Linked DNA regions of Homo sapiens: region 1 is linked to region 2. Evidence: promoter capture Hi-C in 16 types of primary human blood cells and fetal thymus (Javierre and others, 2016). All regions are on one chromosome and are shown on one strand. Each heading gives the region's core, a stretch centred on a gene start or on the middle of the fragment in contact. The rest is flanking DNA. Distances are from core to core; before and after follow the strand shown. Region 1 overlaps MLLT3 (MLLT3 super elongation complex subunit). Region 2 holds the start of CDKN2B-AS1 (CDKN2B and CDKN2A antisense cis and trans regulatory RNA 1).

Evidence for each region. Contacts are between HindIII fragments. The CHiCAGO score rates a contact against its expected background, and 5 or more counts as called.
Region 1: a contact is called between a fragment that was not itself captured here and the fragment with the promoter of CDKN2B-AS1 in region 2, in 1 of 17 cell types (total B cells). The highest score is 5.0, in total B cells.

Annotation. Positions count from the first base shown.
Region 1 is chr9:20,616,563-20,620,800 of GRCh38, forward strand. MLLT3 (MLLT3 super elongation complex subunit) reads right to left here. Exons shown (of 11, transcript NM_004529.4): 2 at 4,092-4,238. Among named protein-coding and RNA genes, the nearest start is that of MLLT3, 3.8 kb to the right of the region's middle. RefSeq lists a silencer at 3,886-4,005 and an enhancer at 4,166-4,238. The HindIII fragment of the contact is 1,595 bases long and covers 799-2,393 here.
Region 2 is chr9:21,991,584-21,996,040 of GRCh38, forward strand. It overlaps CDKN2B-AS1 (CDKN2B and CDKN2A antisense cis and trans regulatory RNA 1), which reads left to right and starts at 3,208. Exons shown (of 19, transcript NR_003529.4): 1 at 3,208-3,578. LOC124902130 (a long non-coding RNA gene) reads right to left here and starts at 2,445. Exons shown (of 2, transcript XR_007061436.1): 1 at 2,303-2,445; 2 at 1-897. It also overlaps a transcript of CDKN2A not described here. RefSeq lists silencers at 2,882-3,141, 3,462-3,661. The HindIII fragment of the contact is 17,311 bases long and covers 1-4,457 here.

The sequences.
Region 1 (4,238 bases), core at 346-2,845, 1.4 Mb before region 2:
TGATGCCCGCTAATGCAAATTTACTTATTTACAGACATACACTTGTATAGACATACGTATACTTATCTGCACAAGCACTTTTTTGAAAAAATGAGATCACAATGATTTAGCAACTTGCCTTATTTCACTTAATTATTCTTGAAGATCTTCCTGCATCTACAAATAGATATACCTCTTTTTATAGATTATCATCATTTAATTGTATCCAGTTGAGGGCCCCTATATGGCTTTCTTCCAAATTTTGACTATTACAAAAACAGTCACAAGAAACATGCTGTATCTTTGTGTACTTGTGAGAACATATTTGTCAGAAAATTCCTAGAAGTAAATTTGCTAGGCTAAACAGTATAAACATTAAAAATCTTAATAGACCTTGCCAATGTTCTCCAAAATACCCCTGCCCGATTTACATTCTCACCCACAGAATATGAGATTTCCACCAACAATTCAGCTTTTAAGTGCCTTGGAAAATTATACTTTATGTGCTTCAAAATGCACAGCAGTAAAACTGTTCTCACTGGTCATCTAAATTTCATACAGAACCCTACACAAATAACACTCGCTGAATCTATCAGAACAGTCACTCATCTTCATTTTGTTCCTTATATCTTTTAAATGACTCTGAAGAGAAAATATACCAGATGCACACAACGTCTTCAGCTAGTAAGCCCTCAAGTATTAGTTACCTTGATAAAAACTTACCCAAATTATTTCAGAAGACCATTTAACACAAATCAAAACTATGCAGTAAAGCTGGCCTCATACACTTAAAGGAAAATTGTTAGAGTGGATTTATTAAGCTTTATCTGCCCACTCAAAGGACTAAGGCTACAAATAAAAAGCTATCAAATCCTACCAGTGGCCAAATTAGCTTCCATAAAATAATAAGCAACAGATTTCATATCATAAATGTCAGTGAAACAAATTGCAATAGTAAGGATGGCTGTAACTGGAAAAAAAGTTCACTCAAATTCACATCATACTAAAAACAAAAACATTAATATTTTAAAAGAAATGTTTTGAATGTGACTATTCATTTCAGTCATATCAGACTAGTACAAATCTTTGGTACTAATAAATAAGATATTGTCTTTTTTTGCAGGTAAATAGTTTAAAAATGCATCATACTCTGACCTACCTGTTTTGTCATGGCTAATAGACATTCCAGGCTTCACCATTTCATCAAAATCTCTTTTCTAAGATTTTGTGCCATTAGTTTTAAATTGAAGGTCTCCCACCCATCTTTGTGACAGAGTAAAACCTCATTAATTCAAATCCAATTAGCTCAATTCTGAAATGGTATACATAATTCTCATTAAGCAACAAGTTAAAAATACTATAATTTTTTCTCCTACAAATTCTAATATTACTGTGAAGTAAAGGAAATCAACCTGAAAATCAATTCACTTTTCCAAACCAAAGATTTACAAAACTAAGGACTCTTTCATCTTTGTGGCTGAGCAGTTCATCCTCAGTCCTAAGGCTCATCTCTGTTTAGCAGCTACTGTATACAGTGAAAGTGATTTAGATTGTCACTATAGCCAACACAGCTTATTTATTATAGAATATGAGCATTTCTTTTAAAGATCTTATAACTCAGATTTCTCACAAATTCATATTTTCAGTTTCTCCAATTTCCAATTGGTAGAATTTTACTCTATCACTTATAGATCTACAATATAGCTAACATAACACTTTAAAAGGTACTGGAAGTAGACATACAAATTCTTGGCATTCTTATTCTATATTTATTCTTATCATTTTGAAAGACTTTATAAGCCAAAAAATAAGTCCCAGGATTAAGTGGCATGTTTGGTGTTGCTTGAACTTACAACTATTCCCAATGAACAGAGAAACCTTCTCTTGCAATCTGAATCATGTGTAATTACAGTATGACAAGGTCTCTCCTGGGTGATGTAAGCTGGCACTTTTCCCAGGACTTGTCACATCATGGGAAGCACGCATACAAATAAAAATCCAAAAATAAACATTTTAAAACAATGGCTTATAGACTGCATAGAGAACCTCCACAGTTGAGTATAAAAATTGAGGAATCCAACCAACAAGCAGACATCTCTCACCAGAGACCTCTGAGAAGTCATCACTGCTATCAAGCAGCTTACCACGCCTAGCAACAACTCCCAGGTGTGGCCTATGTGAGCAGCACCCTCATGTTCCCTCAGGGCAGACAGAAAATCATTAAGTATAGGAAATAAAAATAACATCAATGCACACATCCACTGAAGCAGAAAAACAATGGTAAAATAGAGGTTGATCATCTTTAATTTCATAATGCCAATTTGTTGATTGTCAAGGTGCCTAAACAAAGTTACCTTAAGAGCTACATCTTCTGCCAACTGAGTTAATTTTCCTAATAAATGTTGCTTTTTAAAAGCTTATTTCACCTTGAAGTGAACTGCAGCCAAGTAGTAGTAATAATGTGTACCAAGGATCTTAGAAAGTGGTTTCTTTTGTTTAAACTCCTCTGCTCTACAGACACATGGAAAGGGAGAGAGAGAATCCGAGAAGCAGCATATCAACCTCATCAGCGATAGAAATTTGACATCGCTCATCCTTACCACAGTTTGGAGGAAATATGAAATATAATAATCTCTGACTATATTTTAACATAAAATGCTAACAAATTTCAAATGTTATTTCCTATAGGCCATGCATATTTCTAGCCCTCTATAAGAAACTGGATTTATTTATTAACCATCCAACAAAGACCATCAAATTCAACCGTTCAAGTTTTCAGGAGGAGTTATAAACCAAACCACTAAAGGCAAAAAATACAATCCTACTTCCCATTACATGAGCTCTGGAAACAAAACTAAGCACCAATACAAACCTCTGCCACCTCTAAGGCACACGACGCTTCTCCTTTCTTTATTCAGCCCCCTGAATGTTCAATAATTTCCACACAGCTCTAAGCAGAATGGATTTATTATGATATTACTCTAAGAAACGACAGGAGTTCTAGATGCCAATAAAGATTACGGATCAAATGGAAGATAACTACTAACCATTGTGTCGACTTAGATAAATAAACCTGCTCACAAACAAAGCACCTTATTGTATTTGTACTGTTACCTTCACTAATCCAACTAAAACAACCAGACATTAGTTTTCCAGAGGTTGAAGGGAAAAGAAATCGGTATTTCTCAAACCCTCTTTAAATTTCTTTCAAAATGACACTCCGTTTCTTTTTTCCAAAACTGTCCTGCCCATTATGGAAAATGTTTGGGACCACAGAGGCCCAGTAGGATTATGCAAACTAGACTCCAAGGCTAAGAACCAAGGTGGGGAGGGACTAAAGCAAAAGGCTTCCTCCACATCGTTCCTCTTCAACTTAGCTTCGACCTTTGCAAGAACAGTCTCCCTGCAGATCACATCCGGCAGACACTTTGGAACGTTGCTCAGAATCAAAGGAGCAGTCAAGTGGCACGCGGGGGTGGGAGGGAGGAACGAGTAAGCCCCCCAAGTAAACATAAAATCCAGACTGGAGTGGGTGTGGCGGTGGCTAAGCCACAAAAAGAAAAGTCTATGGCAACTGGCACCTGGTGCCTCATACACAGACAGGAAAGCACAGAAGACCCTAAAGAGAACCGACTTGCCAAGACCGAACAATAACTACATCCAATACATTCTTTGCTAATAACACAGGTAAATCTTAATTTCTCTAGGAAAACACACACACACACACACACACACACACACACACACACACACGCGCAAAGTGTTTATTCCCTCCAGCCCGATTCCCCACATCTCCAAACTCAACAACTAATTGCACCTTCCCCACAGAACCCGCGGCTAACCCCAGAGGACTGGTGAGGGCTGGCTTGGGATGAATAAACACTCGACACCTGACGGTCCTTTCTCTGCGGTGACTTTCACCAAGCCGAAGTGGCGCGCGCGCGGGCAGGCGGGAGCCGGGACCTGGCCCGCGCGGCGCCGCGCACCCGGATCCCGAGGCTACGCCGGCGAGCGCGGCGCGGGGGGCGGGGAGCGGGACAGCGGGACCGCCCGGGCCAAGCGATTGTTTCAAAGACATTTTTTATCAAGACCCTTTTGTATTCGAGCCCTACCTCTTTTTGGCCTAGGAAAGCTTTCGTGCAAGTGGAAGACGACTTTCTCCACAAAGTGCTGTATGTTACTGTGCTCCGGACCGCGTACGAACACCATCCAGTCGTGGGTGAAGCCCTCCACGGTGGGTTTTTTCCTCACCTGGGCGC
Region 2 (4,457 bases), core at 1,958-4,457:
TCACTTTAGTAATAGGAGTTTTTCATATGTTGGGAAAATGGTTTAGCTTAACTCTATCATGGTAGTTGATAGTGATGAACTAACGTGGAATAATAGATCTGTAAACCATCATAGACGGTAATAGGCTATGTTGTTGCTACCTTAGGATCATAATGGACTTTCTAAAATTCAAGAGTACTCAAAGAAGTAAAATGAATATAAGTCTTGATTTCTGAAAGGGCTATGGTTCACTTGGAACACAATACAAACTGTGAATCATGTACACATGGGGAATAATGGTTTATACTAACTGCACAGTGCTTACCTTGAGAGGACTCTGTGCTATTAAAGAAAAAAATAACCTGAGCCTTCTGAAGTAGCTATAAACAAATGAATATTTAACTTCATAATAAAAATATGACTATTTTGTAAATGCACCAAGGTAGAAGTAACAAATCAACTATGGCAATTTTTCAGGTTTCTGTGGTTAAGAAACTGGTAACGTGGAATTTTAGTATATGTATTTCCAATCATATAAAAATAAAAAGTCATAATAAACATATTTGCAGAAACTTAAAAAAAGTTAAAATAACATCTTATTTGCAATGATATTAAATAATTCATACAAGTAATTTTTAGCACTTGTGCCTCTCAAGGAATTGTATGAATCCTAACATAATTAGTATCCATATATATTCCCAAATCAATATAGCCATGGGCATAAAATATATTAATGTGAAATATATAATTACATATCATTATAATTAACACCGCTAGATTTTATATTATGTATATCATTTTACATATGAAATTGGAAAATTGCATATATTTCAAGACATTCTATCCAAGCTGTGTTCTATCTTGAGAAACTTCCTGAAGATTGCGCTTTTCACATACGTCCTGAAAATTGATTTATACCTAAATAACAAAAAATGATCTATTTCAATGAACCTATCATTTAAATATTTTTGCATTTCATGCATATACATTAACATACTATAAAATATTTTCTCTAACTTAAAATCACCACAATGTTATGTTTTATAGGCCTAAACTAAAAAATACATAATTATGGCATTTATATACATTGACATGTTCTACTTTGTTACTACAGATTTTCAGAGGCAACTTAATAATTTAAACAAAATGATTTTATATAGAATAATATTAACTAGAGTAATAAATATTTTTATATAGACAATAATATTAAGAACTATATTCATACAGTTACCGGTCACAGTGGCTAAACTTTTGCTGATACGGATAAACCACTGTTAAAAAAAACAACAACCAGGGTCTTGTCAATGTTTCAAAATGAATTAAAATCAAATCCAGCAACAGGCCCTGAAATCCTTTATAAGCTCCTTTGACTAAATTAAAAAAATTAACTTGCATAATATGAAAAGTAAAAAATAAAATGTGCATTTATCCTATAGATTATAAATTTTTGCTAATAGAAATTGAGACACTAAATTAAACACTGATAGTTTTAACAGGTTTATATTTCCATGTCAAAGAGACAATTAACATTGCAGTAAAAAAATAATTACCCCTCCGCTGGCCTTTGCTTTTTGAAGCTATATATTCCTGGCGAAGCATACCACAAGGACGGTCATAAAAGTGAAGCCTCATTAAATTACTTTTAGACTTATTACACAAGTTTTAATTAGCATTGTACATATTTTAACTGTACATATATTCTTTCAGTTTTCCTGGTTATAGGAAATTACACTGGCTGTGTCAACATTTGTCAATGTGAGGACAAAACTACCTTGGATTCTGTTTTTCAAGAAGTAGGCCTCATTTTTAAACTGTGCTAACTGTCGTCTGAGATGACTAAAATACTATCAGTTGGGATTTCTCAGGAACAGTTCTACAGTTCTGTCGTTTGCTAAACATACGAGCATTGTCCCGAGCAGTTTCAATCACTCAGGCCGCCGGACCTCTACCTCTAACTCACAAAGAAAGCCCATTTCCCTGTTGGCTGCAAAACTCCCCCAAGAAGCAAGTGCTTGCTCCTCGCAGCAGTAACTGATCCTACGATCCTTGTTAGCATTTCAGGAAGTCGCTGCCTGCGTGCCCCGTATCTCACGGGTCCTCCACTCTCCTGGAAGGTGGGAGAGGGTGACCCCGCCGGGAGGCTGGGGAGAAAAAAGGCCGCCTCCAGAAAACTTAGATGGTTAGCAATAATTCTCCCCAAGGAGAAAGAAAGTGTGCTTGAAATACACCTTTCCTACTGTGTGTGTGTGTGTGTGTGTGTGTGTGTGTGTGTGTGTGTGTGTGTCTTAGTCATTCCCACCCAGGATATTCGGGACTCACTGACTTCTGAGGTGGGTTTAGAAGCTCTGTTCGCCTCAGTTTCCCACGATTGAGGGGCTGTGTGAAGGGAGGTCCAGGTTCAATGGTACTGCGAGAACCACATGTCTAAGTCGTTGTAACCCGAATGGGGAAGCCTCCACCGGCGGTTATCTCCTCCTCCTCCTAGCCTGGGCTAGAGACGAATTATCTGTTTACGAAATCACACCAAACAAAACAAGTGCCGAATGCGCCCCGGACTTTTCGAGGGCCTTTCCTACCTGGTCTTCTAGGAAGCGGCTGCTGCCCTAGACGCTGGCTCCTCAGTAGCATCAGCACGAGGGCCACAGCGGCGGGCGCCCCTGGCGCTGCCCACTCCCCCGTGAGCCGCGGGATGTGAACCACGAAAACCCTCACTCGCGGCGGGCCGCACGCGCGCCGAATCCGGAGGGTCACCAAGAACCTGCGCACCATGTTCTCGCCGCCTCCAGGGCCGAGCTCGGCAGCCGCTGCGCCGCCCTTTGGCACCAGAGGTGAGCAGCGCCACTCCTGCCCCCTTAACTGCAGACTGGGACCCACGCACCGCCCCCTGCCCATCTCCGCCCCGCAGGCGCGCACCCGCCTTCCCTGAGCGCGCCCGCCCCCCACCTTCACCCCCACCCCCACCCCACCCCCACTCCCACCCGGACCTCCAAGATCTCGGAACGGCTCTGAGCCCTGCGCACGCGGGAAGGGCTGCCGGAGGCGCCCGTAGGGAGGCGCGCGCGCGGGCGGCTCAGGGCCCGCGTTCCTCTCCCTCCCGCCTACCGCCACTTTCCCGCCCTGTGTGCGCCCCCACCCCCACCACCATCTTCCCACCCTCAGCGCGGGCGCCCCGCGGTGACGGCCCAGGGGCCGGACGCCTGGAACGCAACTCCAGGCAGCTCGCCCCCTAGCTACATCCGTCACCTGACACGGCCCTACCAGGAACAGCCGCGCTCCCGCGGATTCTGGTGCTGCTCGCGTCCCCGCTCCCCTATTCCCCTTATTTTATTCCTGGCTCCCCTCGTCGAAAGTCTTCCATTCTTCAAACTAGATTATTTAAAAATGAAAAAGGAAGAAAGGAAAGCGAGGTCATCTCATTGCTCTATCCGCCAATCAGGAGGCTGAATGTCAGTTTTGAACTAAAAGCCGCTCCGCTCCTCTTCTAGATTTGGAAAACAAGCGAAATTAAACTAAACCGCTGCACGCCTCTGACGCGACATCTGGACACGGCGCGGCGCTGGCGCTGCCGGAGCTGTCGACCCGGCCTGGCGCCGGACTAGGTAGGTGGAGTCGCACCCGGGGGTCCCAGCTGGGTCCGGGCGCCCATTCCCCTCCCAGCTGCCCGCGTCGCCGAGGGCGCCTGGCTGGGACAAGCACCGAGTCCTTTGTGTCTAGCCCATTTTTATTTTCGGTTTTAACCTTCACGACAGCCGCGGAGCATCTGAGCGCTTCTTCCTCTTTCCTCTTCCCCCGCGCTCCCCTCCCCTGCTGGCCGCTCCCCTCCTGTCGCCGCGTCCTCGCGTAGAATGGTTGTCTTGGCGACCGTTGGCCGCTGCCGCCTCCACGCTCTGCCCCGCGCCCAGACACCCCGACTCCCCTTGATCCCGCCGCCTGACTCCTCGGCGTACGTTCTCTCTCCGGTCTCCCCCTCCATGTCCCCTCCTCCCCTTTTCTTCCACATCACCGATCCTTTCTGGACTCTCTCCCTTCCTCCTTTCCAGCTGGGAGACAGGAAAAGCGGTCCTGTTTGGGAACAGTAAAAGCAGGGCAAGGAAAGGAAGGAGCGGCAGAAAGGAGGGGTGAGTCGAGGACACAGGGGCAGCCGGAGAATGCGGAGGAGCCGGGTCCTGAGCGCGGTCTAAGCGAGGCTCGGCTCTCGTCCAGGAACTCGGACGCGGGCTCGCCGGCTCTCCGCGCGCGGGAAGTCGAGCCCAGGACGCCGCCTTCAGGCCGGCGCGCTGACCCGGTGCCCCGACCCGGAGCCTGCGGTCTGCCTGGATCCGTCCTAAACCTCGCGGGCTGGACCCGCGGCCTGAGTGGGTGGGTGTGTGCCAGAGGATTCGGGACTAGGCCCAGCTCCGGGAACCTGGAAATGTGGCCCGCTTCTCAGTGGCTTCCTGTTCATGCGCTTGGGCCTAGTGGCCTAGTTGAAGAAGTGG